Linked DNA regions of Homo sapiens: regions 1, 2 and 4 are each linked to region 3. Evidence: promoter capture Hi-C in 16 types of primary human blood cells and fetal thymus (Javierre and others, 2016). All regions are on one chromosome and are shown on one strand. The core of a region is centred on a gene start or on the middle of the fragment in contact, and the rest is flanking DNA. Distances in the headings are between cores, read along the strand shown.

Region 1 (3,489 bases), core at 627-3,126, 850 kb before region 3:
AAAAACAAAACTTTGTTCTGTATTTTCTAACATGAAATCTGAATCCTGACTTTGAAAAAGAGAACCTACTCCCTAGGCTACTTTTTTATTCATTTGAGTTTTATTCATTTGACTTTGAGCTTGACAAAACGGACAAGAAAAGCAGCTGTGGAAAGCAGTATATAATCCCCTAAAATCTGAACATTACTGACAATAGAATATATCTTCATAGGGTGTAGAAACCCAGAAGGGGAGTTATAATTTTCCCACAATTTTTATATTTACCTACATAATTAAGATGACTTTACCTGGAAATGATTCTAGTGTTTCAGAAAAAGACCTTTTCATTACCCTTTCTTTTAATGTATTTTAATATTTTATGAGTTGTAGTTGTGAATGTTTCTGTAAATGACCTTTAATCCACAAATGTGTAAGAAACTGCTTTGGGATACCATCTTCAATATCATCTAATAATTTCTGGATTTAAGAAATCATGCTTTCCCCCAACCTTAAATTTACTTTTTTTTTTTTTTTTTGAGACGGAGTCTTACTCTGTCGCCCAGGTGGGAGTGCAGTGGCACAGTCTCTGCTCACTGCAACCTCTGCCTCCCAGATTCAAGCGATTCTCCTGCCTCAGCCTCCCAAATAGCTGGGGCTACAGGCATGCGCCACCACACCCAGCTAATTTTTGTATCTTTAATAGACCTGGGGTTTCACCATGTTGGCCAGGCTGGTCTTGAACTCCTGACCTCAAGTGATCTGCCTGCCTCGGCCTCCCCAAGTGCGGGGGTTACAGGTGTGAGCCAACATTGGCCAATATTTACCTTTTAAAAATTAAACCTTAAAAACAGCAATTTAATGTCTAATGTAATATATAATCTGACTTATGAAAAATTAACCTGTCATTAGGTTAAATCAATTCCACATTAATGTTTTACTTTTGTGACATCAAACTCATACATCTAACAATTCTGTTCACAGTATTGTTAATTGTTACTTCTCAAGGTTATTCTATATCCCTGTGGCAGGACATTTGCCTGTACTGTATTGAGATACTTCTTTGTCCTTATTGCTACAATTTCATTTAAGGCTTTTTCTCTGTTTTACTTGCATTGCCTGCTCTCCTGGGTTTCTTACTTTTCCAGCATACTAATAGTTATTGCCTTCACTGTAGAATGCAAGGTGGAGTAGTCATTTCCTTCTTCCATAAAGCTTTCCTAATCTCGCCCAACAAAATTATCTCTTTGTATTCTATAGCTCCTTGTTTGGGGTAGTATAAGGAATATGGGCTTTGGATTCAGATAGTATTCAAAGCCAGTGCTGTTCTTAACCACTGTTAACTTCGTGACCTTGAGCAATTTACTCACCTCTCTGAGGTGGTGTCATCGTCTGGAAAAGAGAGATTTATTTATAGTAATCATGGGAGGGTTTTTGTGAGAATTGAGGATGCACAATGTCTGTCACAGAGCCTGGACACAGTAATAAATTCCAGTCCATATGCCACTAATTACCATGGTCATTAATAGTATTAATTAGTTCCTATAGCTATCTTTCCCTGACCCCTGCCCCTCAAGTTTTGTCCATATCCTCTGCTAGAACCTGAGGGAAGGAGTAAATGCCAAAACACATATGTGTCATTCTCAGGAATTTTGAAAGACAGCAGAAAAAAAGATAAAAGCACATAGGCTCATACTGGTGTTCTTTATTCACAGTAGCAGTAGTCTTGGCAAACCATTTTCTAATCATCAACACCCAATGTGAAGTATTATTTTGGCTAAATGTTTTTAATATGTTCAGTATTCTTAAAACAAGTGTTTAATTTAAAATTTGTTGTTACAACTCTGAAATGTTTTCTAGCAAACCTTTAGCACGACATATGTGTTGTATTATTTTTCATTGGGACTTTTGGATTAAATATTTGGAAACGTTCATTTGTGTGGGTGACTGACTAGGGACTGATAATGCCAATTGTCCTTTTATGATGTCTCTTTCATCATCTATTAAGTGAAGTATTGATCTCCAAAGTTTCAAGTCCTGATGGGCAAGCTCAGAATTTTACTGTGCAATTATTTTTATGTTGAAAAATTTATTTTTAATAAATTTGAAGTGCAGTTGGCTTTTATAGCCCCAAAACAAACAAATAAAAACAGAACTTTTATCATTCAAAAATATATAAAGTAAGAATTTGGAAAAATAGAACACTCCGGTTGGGATTTATATAGCAATACTTTTGCTATAATCTTCCTTTGCTGTAGAGGAAGTAATAAGTTTTACTAGTCACAGGTTTGTGGCAAATTTGTAAGGACCTTTATGGACTCACAGCATGAAACCAGTAGCTACAAATCCTCCTTGAGTCTGAGCCCCAAGTCATAACTAATCATCTGCCTTTAAGTAGGAGAGATTTAAAAATCTTTACAAATAAGGGTTAAAAAGTGTTTTTATTTTTACAAGTAGATTTTTTTAGCTTCATAGCTACTTAAAACATTTTGAGATAACATTTATTCTGACAGTTTACAAGGTATTTCTCAAAGCCCTCTATATTTTGAGTACGTTATCAGTGTTTTATTTTTTAATTAAGCTTTTTTGAGGTAATTATAGATTCACACACAGTTGTAAAACATAATGTGTATTCTCTCTTCCTGTGTGTCCTTTACTGGTTCCCCACAGTGGTATAACATCTGGCAAAGCTATAGTAAAATATCACAACCAGGAAACTGACATTAATGCAATCTACTGATCTCATTCAGATTTCCCTACTTCTATTTGTATTCTTTTGTGTATGTCTATATATATTTGGTTATATGAAATTTTATCCTGTGCATAGTTTTGTTAATTCACCACCACAGTCAAGACCGGTTCCATTATCACAAGGATTCTCCGTGATACTCACTGATGACCATACCTTCCTCTCTTCCTCCCCTTCCCCAATTCCTGTTAACTGGTAATTGCTACCTCTAGAATTTTGTCATTTCAAGAATTTGTTTAAGCATAATCATATAGTATATAACACTTGGGAATTAACTTCTTTGAGTCAGGATAATTCCTCAGATTCATCCAAATTTTTGCATGTATTAATAGTTCATTCATTTTAATTACTGAGGAGTATTCTGTGGTATACATATACCACAGTTTGTTTAACCATTCACCTGTTGAAGGACATCTGGGTTCTTTCCCGTTTTTTGGCTACTACAATTAAAGCTGTTAGGAACATTCATGTACTAGTTTTTATGTGAACATGCAGTTCTCTGGAATAAATGCATAAGTGCAATTGCAGGGTAATACGGTAATTGCCTGCTTAGTTTTATAAGGCGTATATGTTTTACCACTTCAAGTGAAGTGTGGAAACCATACTGCCATTCCTTTTACTTTCTCACTTTTTCAGATACTGTCTTGAGTATCAGAAGGTGTTAAAATGTTTAATCAAATGTGATTTAGAAAACTCATGAGGATATATTCTCTTGTATTTATCCACAAATCTCCTCTTTCCACTGTTCGTTCTTTCACTTTTAT
Region 2 (3,446 bases), core at 496-2,995, 870 kb before region 3:
CCATTGTCTGCCGTATGTGAACTTAGCAAGTCCTAAAACCTCTAGGCTTTGGCTTTCTCCTCTAACAGTCCTTAGAAGATTTAGATAATGTATCTGAAAATTATTGTAAATATTGAAGTGTCTTATAGATATTAGATTAAGCCTAGATTACAAATCAATATAGGAAACCTAAAAATATCAACACTGTCTGCTTTTCTTTCTAGTCAATTTTTTTTACCATTTTTCTCTCATGAATGCCTTATTCTATCACTAACTATTCCTTAATAATTTTGTTTGATTTCAGTTTAATTAACTGATTAGCCTATAATTCAGGTAAAAATTTGGTAGTTTCTTAATTAGCAGAAATACTACAAAGATACTATTACTCCTTTTCCTTTTTCAGTAACAAAAATTCATTTAATGAGAGTTTTTAGAAATCATAGAATGGAAAAGCTTGTGATCTTCTAAATGTAGGAAAACTTGTTTGCTTGTTAAAATGATTCTTACATAATAATGAAAGGACTTCTAGTCCCATAGGATAATTATGGCCACCTAAATTCAATTGTGTCCACAATATCAATAAAGAGAGCTAATAGAACCACCCATAACTCTTGCCTGCTGTATTAACAGGAGTTAGAGATTGCTACAAGCTTCATTTTATATACCAGTAGTGAAGTAAACAACTGAAACCAACAGGGCCAGCTCTGGAGCTCATGCTGAGGTGAAAAGTCAAACAAAGACTGAAAGGAAAAGAGAAGATTGTTGGGACAAGGGATACGTTGACTAGTAGTGGTGAAATACAAATGAAATTACTTGAAGAAAGAGAGTTCAACCCTGAGTGAGAAAGTATTGAACAGTTCTGAGGCTGGAAGGATTAGAGCACTGGCTACTGGAGAATCAAAGTGACATTTTGTTTTTTGTTTTTTTGTTTTTTTGAGACAGGGTCCCATTGTCTCGTCCAGGCTGGAGTGCAGTGGCAAGATCACAGCTCATAGCAGCCTCAACCTCCCTAGGTCCAGGTGATCCTACCACCTGAGCCTCCCGAGTAGCTGGGACTATAGGCATGCGCCACCACACCTGTCTAATTTTTTGTATTTTTTTTGTTTTAAGAGTATGGGGGCCAGAGTTAGCATGATAGTCTTGGGAAAGTACTGTTTTGAGGAGAGACAAGTAGTTGATTCAGAAGGGTGTGGTATTCCTTTGAGAGTTGGTAATGAAGGAAAAGAATGGAAAGAAAGGATAGAAATTAAAGATTCCTCTCATCCCCCAAATAAAAAAGAAATGACAAAATCAGAAGCTAATCCCTCCTTTTCATAATAGCACCATATATTAAAGAAACTTGACTTCATTATTTTTCCAGAAGGGAGCACTTTAGAATTAAGTAATTGTGCCATTCCGCAACCTTACCCCTGCATTCATAAAGTCACCTGTTATTACTGACCAAGCCAAACATTAGGTATTTCAAAATGAATAAAAGACAACATGGAAAAGCCATGTAAAGGTATTATTTAGGAAGAAACAGAAAATGTGAATAAAACAGTTTAGTTGATGAACATTTCCCCCTTAACACCCAAAACAAAGCAGAGGAAGACTGCAATACCACACCTTTACTTGGTTTAGGTTTGTTTAAAAAGCATTTTCAGGTATGGAAAGCATTCTTTAAGTTTGAAATTCAATAACTTAGAATAAATGGACAAAGAACAGGGGGATGTGAAATAAAAGTTGATCAAACTCAGGAGCAAAGTTCAGGCAATAGTAGTTATCTCAGAAATGAAAATGAAAAAATAAGATATCCAAAGGAAAGTAGATTCAACTGAGAATATAGTAAGAGACATTGAGGAAAGGACTGAAAATAATCAAGAGAACAAAACTAAAAAAAGAGGTAAAAATAATCAGGTAGGATGTGACAAATATGATAGACAAAGAAGATTTAACATATATTTAATTGGAGCTCCTGAAGACAGAAAAGAACAATGGATTGGAGTTAAGATCTAAAATTATAATCCAAGAAAACGTTCCAGAAATAGAAGACCTAGCTTTACACATTAAAACAGTTCATTTTCCCAATTAATCCAGAATGATCAATTCTGAAACTGTACTAGTATATTGTACTGTAACAAATTATCAGAAATTTAGTGATTTAGGACAACACATAGTTACTGTCTTACAGTTTTGTATGTCAGAAGTCTAAAACAGGTCCACAGGGCTTTTCTTCTGGAGGTTCTCAAGGAGAATCTATTTCTTTGCCTTTTCTAACTTCTAGAGGCTGCCTTCATTCCCTGGCTTGTGGTTCCATTCTCCATCTTCTAAGCTAGCAGTGTAGCATTTTCTCTTCTCTCTGACTTGTCTTCCTCTTAGAAGGATCCTTCTGACTCTATTGGGCCTATCTGGATAATGCAGTGTAATGTCTATCTGAAGATCCTTAACTCAGTCACATCTGCTAAGTCCCTTTTACCCCATAAGAATGTATTCACATGTTCTAGGGATTTGGACTTTGGTATCTTTGGAGGCAGAGCCATTATTCAGCCTACTACAGAGACTTCTTGGAAAGCATTTAGACTTTAAAAATAACAGAAAAAAACCTCTGAGCTTTCAGGCAAAAAATAAAAGTCACTTACAAAGGAAAGTCAGTGAAAAAGTGAAACAAATGGATCAACAATTTCAAGAAACTCAAGGAGAAAGGAAGTGTAAGCCAAATAATTTTATGTTCAGTCAAACCTGTCATTGAACTATCAAGGCTAGAGAAAAACAATATTAAACATGGAAGAACTCAGAGAACACTACTCATAAGACATTTCTTAGGACGACCTTGATGTGAAAAAGAGATGACTGGAGAAACTAACAAAAGGATTGATGATGAACATTGAATTTAATTAAGCTTAGCTCCAAACTAAAATTAAGGTGGAAATAAGAGTAGAAGAATAGTATGTAAATATTATGTATTCTGACAAGGTAGGAATATTACAACTTAAAAATTGGGAAAAGAAGGAAAAGAGAAAGGGGAAAATTAAACTTGTTGATTGCTATACAGGTGAGAGATGGGCATCAAAGAATACTTCAAAAGCTAAAACTACTTTTTTTAAAGTATACTCAAAGAAGGCCCACACTCATCCTTATCACTTCCACCCTGTTCTTCATGCAGATTTTGGATATTTAATTGTTCTAATCTGGCATTATTTTTAAATTAGCCCTGTAAATTAGCTCATTTTTAAGAGTTCTGTGAGAGTTTTAGAGTTGGTGAGCACCTTTGCATCAAACTGCCTTATTTTTTTTTATGAGTAAACTATTCATTTTTTCGAAGTCATGCAGCTAAAACTGTCGTAGGGCATTCTTTACTCATTATACTATAGTGTGTTGCCTTATAAATTCAATTTGTCGTGTCATAATCACTTCATATTCTTAATAGTGTTTTGGTTGTTTAACAGTTTTAATTGCAAATAAGTCCAGGATGGGGCAATTAAAATACC
Region 3 (3,157 bases), core at 29-2,528:
TTACTGTGCATGTTGAGAGCCCAGAGTCTTCCGAAGCTACTCTGAGTCCACTTTCTAAACATGTTACTCTTGTTTCAGGAACATTCAGAACAACTTGGGTAGCAGCCTGTGTACTTCTTAATCTGTTCTCTCCAAAATATAATGACTGGTTGGGGGTAGGAAGTGGAAGAGACAAAGCAAAACACATTACTAATCTGATATTAAATGTTGCTTTTAAAACCAAATCTATTTTAAATAGGCTGTCTCTATAAAAGAATCTTTCTTCTTGAATTTTGGTTCCACTGAGATCTCTGCCTGGCCTAGAAACATCTGTCACCAGCCACTGTCCTAAAGCCAGCAACGTGTTTATAAACATGCCCTTCCCTCAGGGAAGATGAGCAATTATTATCATTACCCAGAGAGAAATTGACTTTATTTCACTACCTCTCCTAGAAATGTTTTATATTCATTATGGAGAAAACAAGCAGGAAAAAAAAAAAGAGAGGGAAACTATGTAAAACTACCTACACACAAGACAAAACTGACACTCGGGTTTTCATTGTTCAAGAAAAGCAACAGGGTTTGGAAATGGTTAAAAAAAAAAAGAGAGAGAGGATAGGAAGATGGGTCGATGTTCAAAATGCAAATGACTGGCTTTTCGGCCAGAAACTATTCGCCTTTCAGCAGTTTTTCTTTGCCCTTATACAAAAGTCTCACATCCCTTTGCTTAAAGTCAGAGGCTCTCTCATGAGAAAAATGCAAATACATAAAAAATTTTACTTCATTGATGTCCAGGTTCGCGGGAAGCCCAGCTGAGGACGAAGTTCAGTCTTAGGCAAAAATAGAACTCTGGAGCGGTACCCATTTCACTTTTTAGTTTTCCCCAATTTGCAAGCACTACGTTTTTAGTGGTCAAACATGCACTCCTCAGTAGCTGGCGGGAGGAGCCGAAAACCAGGGTCATCCCACACGTCACTAGCAGGTCTCCTGGCGGGTGGCCACAAGCCAGTCACCCCCGGCCAGTTCAGCAGCCCCAGGCCGCCTGGCGCCCGGCGGGTCCGGGTCGAGGAGGCCCTGCCCGACCCACTGTTCGGATCTGTGGCGCCGACTCTCAGGTGCGCTGCGCCGGGTCTGGCGAGATCTCGAGGACAGGACCGGCCTGGAGGGAAGCTCACCCGTCCCGCAGCGCCTCGGATTAGAAGACTCTCGCTGAAACCCCAGAGCCGCCGCCGCGCCGCGGATGACAACACCACTCGAGCCGCCGCAGCCGCCATTTCTGCTAGAAGGAAGGTAGAGGATGAAGGATGTGCTTCCGGGGTCGCGACCTGAGGTCCCAGAGCAGGGAGGTGGGCTCCACCTTGTGGCCGTGATGGGAATGACACTCCTCGAAGCGGTTGTGAAAGCAATCAGGGCCCGACCATGATGCTGAGCGGTCTTTACCAAATGAATTGGGGAGTCTGCAGAAGCCCCTTTATCATCAGTTATTTTATCGATCGCCTACTAAGTGCAAGGCACAAATGCGGTGGAATGAAAGGTAACCTGATGCAATATATCTCACTGGTGGATGGAATTGATTGAAAACAGTGGAATAATATTCATAAGTCACTGCCTTTAAAGGAAAAGTCTAGTGGGAGAGACAGATGCCGTGAGGGGAGGAAACGATGTATCCGTGTTGACCACTATCCACTCTTCGAACCTCTACAATATGGCTCATCTCATTCCATAGAAATTGCCCTTGGTAAGGTCACTAATTGCTAAAAGTTGGACACTTTACAGACTTATGTTACAGTCCTGTTGGAGGATTTGACATTGTTGGCTTCTTTGAAATTCTCTTTTCTCAATATATTCTAGAGCTCCACCTCCTCATAGTTCCCTCTGCACCTTCTTGGACTCCTCTTTATTCACAGATCTGTTTTTTGTTTTTGTTTTTGTTTTTGAGATGGAGTTTCACTCTTGTTGCCCAGGCTGGAGTGCAGTGGTGCAATCTCAGCTCACTGCAACCTCTGCCTCCTGGGTTCAAGCAATTCTCCTGCCTCAGCCTCCCAGGTAGCTGGGATTACAGGCATGTGCCACCACGCCTGGCTACTTTGTATTTTTAGTAGAGATGGGGTTTCACCATATTGGTCAGGCTGGTTTTGAACTCCTAACCTCAGGTAATCCACCCACCTCCACCTCCCAAAGTGCTAGGATTACAGGCGTGAGCCACTGCGCCCAGCCCACAGATCTCTCAAGGAACTAAAAATTGCAAATGCTTTTCTAACTCAGGTAGATGGTATAGTGCTTATTTTGCAATTAAGACACTGAAGTCAAATAACTTGCCCCAGGTTACCCTGCTAGTAATAGGTTAACGCCAAAGACTGTGCTGTGAAACACTACATTTTGCCCTAAAAGTTGGTGTTTGCCAGGACTCTAAGCCTCTTCTACTGAACATTCTCCCTCTGGGTTTTTCCCTCCACTTCAAGACCTGTCTGCCCAACCCAGGCCTTTCTCTTGAGCTCCAGCCCACTTAACCATCAACTACTAGGAAACTACACTTGAATACCCCATTGGAAACTCAATATCAACTTGTCCAAAAGGGAATTCACTGTGTCCCCTGAATCTCTTCCCATATTTGCAATGCCAAACAGCCAATCATACCTACATTTGCCCAAAACTCCAAACCACCCAGAAGCTCCTCTCTTTTTCCATCTTCCACATTCAATTGATACACCCCTTTCCTGCCTCTTCAATCTACTCCAGGCCCATTGTCAGTTTTTTCACATTACTACCTATAGGATCTTTTACAAATGAAACTGTTACGGCAGTCCCATTATGAAGAATCCATCAGGGAGCCCTTGGTCACAATAAAGTAAAGGGTCCTTAGCATGGCAGGTGGGGCCCTTCATGATCTGACTCCCATTTATCTTTCCAGACTCATCTCCCTCCACCTACCCGGCTGCTATGCTTCGCAGGTTCAGTCCACAAGACTCATGATGTAATGTAATAAAGGACGACCAAGGTTATTCTCTCATGTTTCTAAAACAAATGTGTGTTAACCAAAAATAAATACAAACATGCATACATATATACAAAAACATGTAGGTATAATCACAGGAAGCACCTAGGAAGTTTTAGCAAGAATTTGTATTCAATTCTAATATACTTCATGGTATTAATTTATTAGTCATTATTTACAGTC
Region 4 (3,339 bases), core at 309-2,808, 890 kb before region 3:
CGCTGTATTAGTCCATTCTCACACTGCTATAAACATACCTGAGACTGGGTAATTTATAAATTTATAAAGAAAAGGTTTAATAGACTCACAGTCTGTGGGCTGTACAGGCTTCTGCTTCTGGGGAGGCCTCAGGAAACTTGGAATCATGGTGGAAGGTGAAGGGGAAGCAAACACATCTTCACATGGCCAGCAGGAGAGAGAGCATGAAGGGGGAAGTGCTGCACACTTTGAAACAACCAGATCTCATGAGAACTCTATCACAAGAACAGCTAGGGGGAAGTCTGCCTCATGATTCAATCACCTCCCACGAGGCCCCTCCTCCACTGAAAATTTCAAATGAGATATGGGTGGGGACACAGAGCCAAACCATATCACCCATCAAGAAACACCTCATTAGTATAAATTGAGGTATGTTTTAAAAGGACTTATTATGAGTAACAAAAGATACTCCTCTTATCCTTCTCATTCAGGGAATTATGAGGGTTTTTAGAAGCTCTGTGCCAGGAACTGCAGTGAAGATCAAATATATATTTTTTATTATATCACAAATCACACTTTTGTATTCTAATCTTGTAATAGTTTTATTATTCCTTAATTGTTGCTGGGTCTGGGTGTTTTTTTTTTAATACCTTTGTTATAAAATGCTTGAAGATATGATTAGTGTACTATGTTAATCATTATAAGTTATTTTGTGTCCTGTGAACAGGCAACCTTCAAAAGATCCTGTCCCATGATCATCCTCCAGAGTATTCAGCTGATTTCTATGCTGCCTACATTAACATTCTTCTTGGAGTTTTCTACACTGTTTGTCGAGATTTGAAAGAGCTCAGACATCTGGTAAATGAACATTTTGCTTGAATATATATATATGTGTGTGTGTGTGTGTGTGTGTATACATATATGTGTATATATGTATTTTAATGTTTTCCATGTAGAAATGGTATGAGATAGGTTAGAAACTGAAATTTTATTCTGGGAATTTGCATATGGCCTCTAGAGACTAACATACCATAAGAAGGTAGATGTCTGTGGGTTAGTACAAACTTTGATTGTTTGATCTGATCAGAAAAATGTCATTCTCAGATCTTCTTACTCTTCCTTGTTTTTTCTCTAATTGCAGAAAATGCAGAACTCCATAAAAATCAAAATGAGGAATAACAGAAAAGAGATGTAAAAACTTGAGCAGTTTTACAACTCTGTTAATATTTTGTAACAGATTTTGTTCAAGTTTTATGTATGCGGTGATTGAGGTCTAGAATCTAGATGGATTTGAGTATGGTCAGAAGCTTTCATTGCAGGTCTTTCATTAACCACTGACCCTGAGCTGGTAATCTTTGTATAGATGGTTCTTTTTAATTTTTTTTTTTTAACAATTAGAATAGCTGTTTATATTTCATAGACAGTTTGGAAAATGTTGATGTTTAATTTTTCTTTGACCTTTTTTGTTTTAATTGTAGGGATGGGAAAGGAAAGAGACAAGAATTTCTGTTTTCCCTTTTAGAAATCTTCAATTAATTAAGATCTTATCTCCATTTAACAGAAAATAGTAATATATCTGAGGCTGGAAAACAGTCACTTTCAAAGTAACAGATTCTATGTCTCTTAGCACATTTTCTTCACTTTGTTCTTTTTCTGTTTTTGCCCTGAAAAGTATTACTTAGTTTCAGTGTGTGTTTGCGACAGAACACAGAAGGCAATCATTTAAAATTATGCTCACATTTAGTATGTTTTTGAAAGTTTCAGATTTCAGGGCTCCTCTGATTTACATGTAGATTTCAGACATCTTCTCAGCTGGGAAAAAACAAAACAGTTTTTCCAGTTCAAGCTTATCACTAACATTCCTCTAGAAGTTGGATGTCTTGGGATCCCTGGCTTCTGAGGGAAATGATAACACAAGAGACTTACAGAGAGGAGAGGGTCAGGAAAACGCACCTGAGTGAGATGGACTTAGGAGCAGATAATCCTCCTCGGTCTTTCCTGGAAAGTAACTTGCAGTTACCACTCTTTAGCACTCGAATCCTGTGGGAATCTGTGCTGACAGCCATTTCAAAGTAGATTATAAAGTACAAGAAGGAAAAATTTAGGGAAAATATTTATGGGAAAATAAAATGTAAAGAGAGAAATATATATTTAAATGTGGTATTTTTTAAAGTTCTTCGAGTTTCACTGTGGAATGATTTTATTTAGGGTGAGGTTACAGCTTTTTAAAAAATAATATTCATAAATGTGTAGTATGGTTTAAGTCTTATACTACTATTGGTAATAATAGAGAAAAGGATCCTTAAACATTAGAGAAAAATAGCACAATGTTCTTAGTTTTCTCTATATATAGAACATGGAAGAATAAAGATATTCATTTTCTTTTTTTTCTTCAGATAGTGTTGTTTGTGTTTGTTTCAAAGTTTGTAAGTGGCATATTTCTTGAAAGTTTATTAAATCACCTGAAAAATATTCTTTTCAGGGATCTTTTCTGGAAAGATGCTTTATGAATTGATATTTCTGTATTTTTCAGAGGCTAGTTCTATAGGTAGCTTAAGATAGGAGAAAATGAAGTACTACTTTGATATTCATTTAGGTTTGTTTTCTCTAACAAACCTTATGATACTGCCTTTTTAACTGTTATTCATAAATTATTAAACATATTTTAGTGTTTCAACCAAAGAGAAAATCAATACAGTTGCCCCTTGGTATACTTGGGGGATTGGTTCCAGGACCAGTCCCATATATATCAAAATCCTAGCACACTCAAACCCTGCGATCAACTCCGCAGAACCTGAGTGTAAAAAAGTTAGCCCTCCATATACATGGGTTTTGTATTCCCTGAGTACTGTTTTTGATCTGTGTTTGTGATCTGTGTTTGGTTGGAAAAAAAAAAAAATCTGTAGACAAGTGGACCCTCACAGTTCAAACCTATGTCGTTCAAGGGTCAGTTGTTTATTTTGATTAGCCAAATTGTGTACCAGTTGCTGTTAACATTATGACACTTTAGTGTTATTACACCATGCTTAGATCTGAAAATCTAAAATTAAGGTAAGAAAGTTTGGCTAAAGCGAATAATTTCTTTTTGATTCTTCTTCTCTACACTTAGTAGAATTTGGAAGATTTTTCTATTTTAAATCATTGTTTTTTATGAAGTAGAATAGGAAGAAATTATTTTAATGATTTGGTTCTTAGTTTTCTGTTATCTAGTTATATGTTATATAGTTACACATTTATATATATCTTTTTCTGTGCCTTATTGAATTATTTTGATATGAAATACTTGGGAACAAACTAATATATATATATTTTTTTTAAATAAATGGAATTAGTATGTTTTTAACCAGTTTGCTTAAACTG

What was found. Contacts are between HindIII fragments. The CHiCAGO score rates a contact against its expected background, and 5 or more counts as called.
Region 1: a contact is called between a fragment that was not itself captured here and the fragment with the promoter of PMPCB in region 3, in 6 of 17 cell types (total CD4 T cells, naive CD8 T cells, non-activated CD4 T cells and 3 more). The highest score is 8.7, in total CD4 T cells.
Region 2: a fragment that was not itself captured here is called in contact with the fragment with the promoter of PMPCB in region 3 in 12 of 17 cell types (non-activated CD4 T cells, activated CD4 T cells, naive CD8 T cells and 9 more); the score reaches 15.7 in non-activated CD4 T cells.
Region 4: a contact is called between a fragment that was not itself captured here and the fragment with the promoter of PMPCB in region 3, in 12 of 17 cell types (naive CD8 T cells, M2 macrophages, total CD4 T cells and 9 more). The highest score is 12.8, in naive CD8 T cells.

The regions. Positions count from the first base shown.
Region 1 is chr7:104,146,060-104,149,548 of GRCh38, reverse strand. The region is part of intron 12 of ORC5 (origin recognition complex subunit 5); the gene reads left to right. Among named protein-coding and RNA genes, the nearest start is that of ORC5, 60 kb to the left of the region's middle. The HindIII fragment of the contact is 1,366 bases long and covers 1,194-2,559 here.
Region 2 is chr7:104,169,323-104,172,768 of GRCh38, reverse strand. The region is part of intron 8 of ORC5 (origin recognition complex subunit 5); the gene reads left to right. Among named protein-coding and RNA genes, the nearest start is that of ORC5, 37 kb to the left of the region's middle. The HindIII fragment of the contact is 2,228 bases long and covers 632-2,859 here.
Region 3 is chr7:103,295,556-103,298,712 of GRCh38, reverse strand. PMPCB (peptidase, mitochondrial processing subunit beta) reads right to left here and starts at 1,278. Exons shown (of 13, transcript NM_004279.3): 1 at 1,155-1,278; 2 at 5-145. The coding sequence starts at 1,253. RefSeq lists enhancers at 1,024-1,323, 1,424-1,483. The HindIII fragment of the contact is 11,349 bases long and covers 1-3,157 here.
Region 4 is chr7:104,185,749-104,189,087 of GRCh38, reverse strand. It overlaps ORC5 (origin recognition complex subunit 5), which reads left to right. Exons shown (of 14, transcript NM_002553.4): 6 at 707-837. Among named protein-coding and RNA genes, the nearest start is that of ORC5, 21 kb to the left of the region's middle. The HindIII fragment of the contact is 539 bases long and covers 1,289-1,827 here.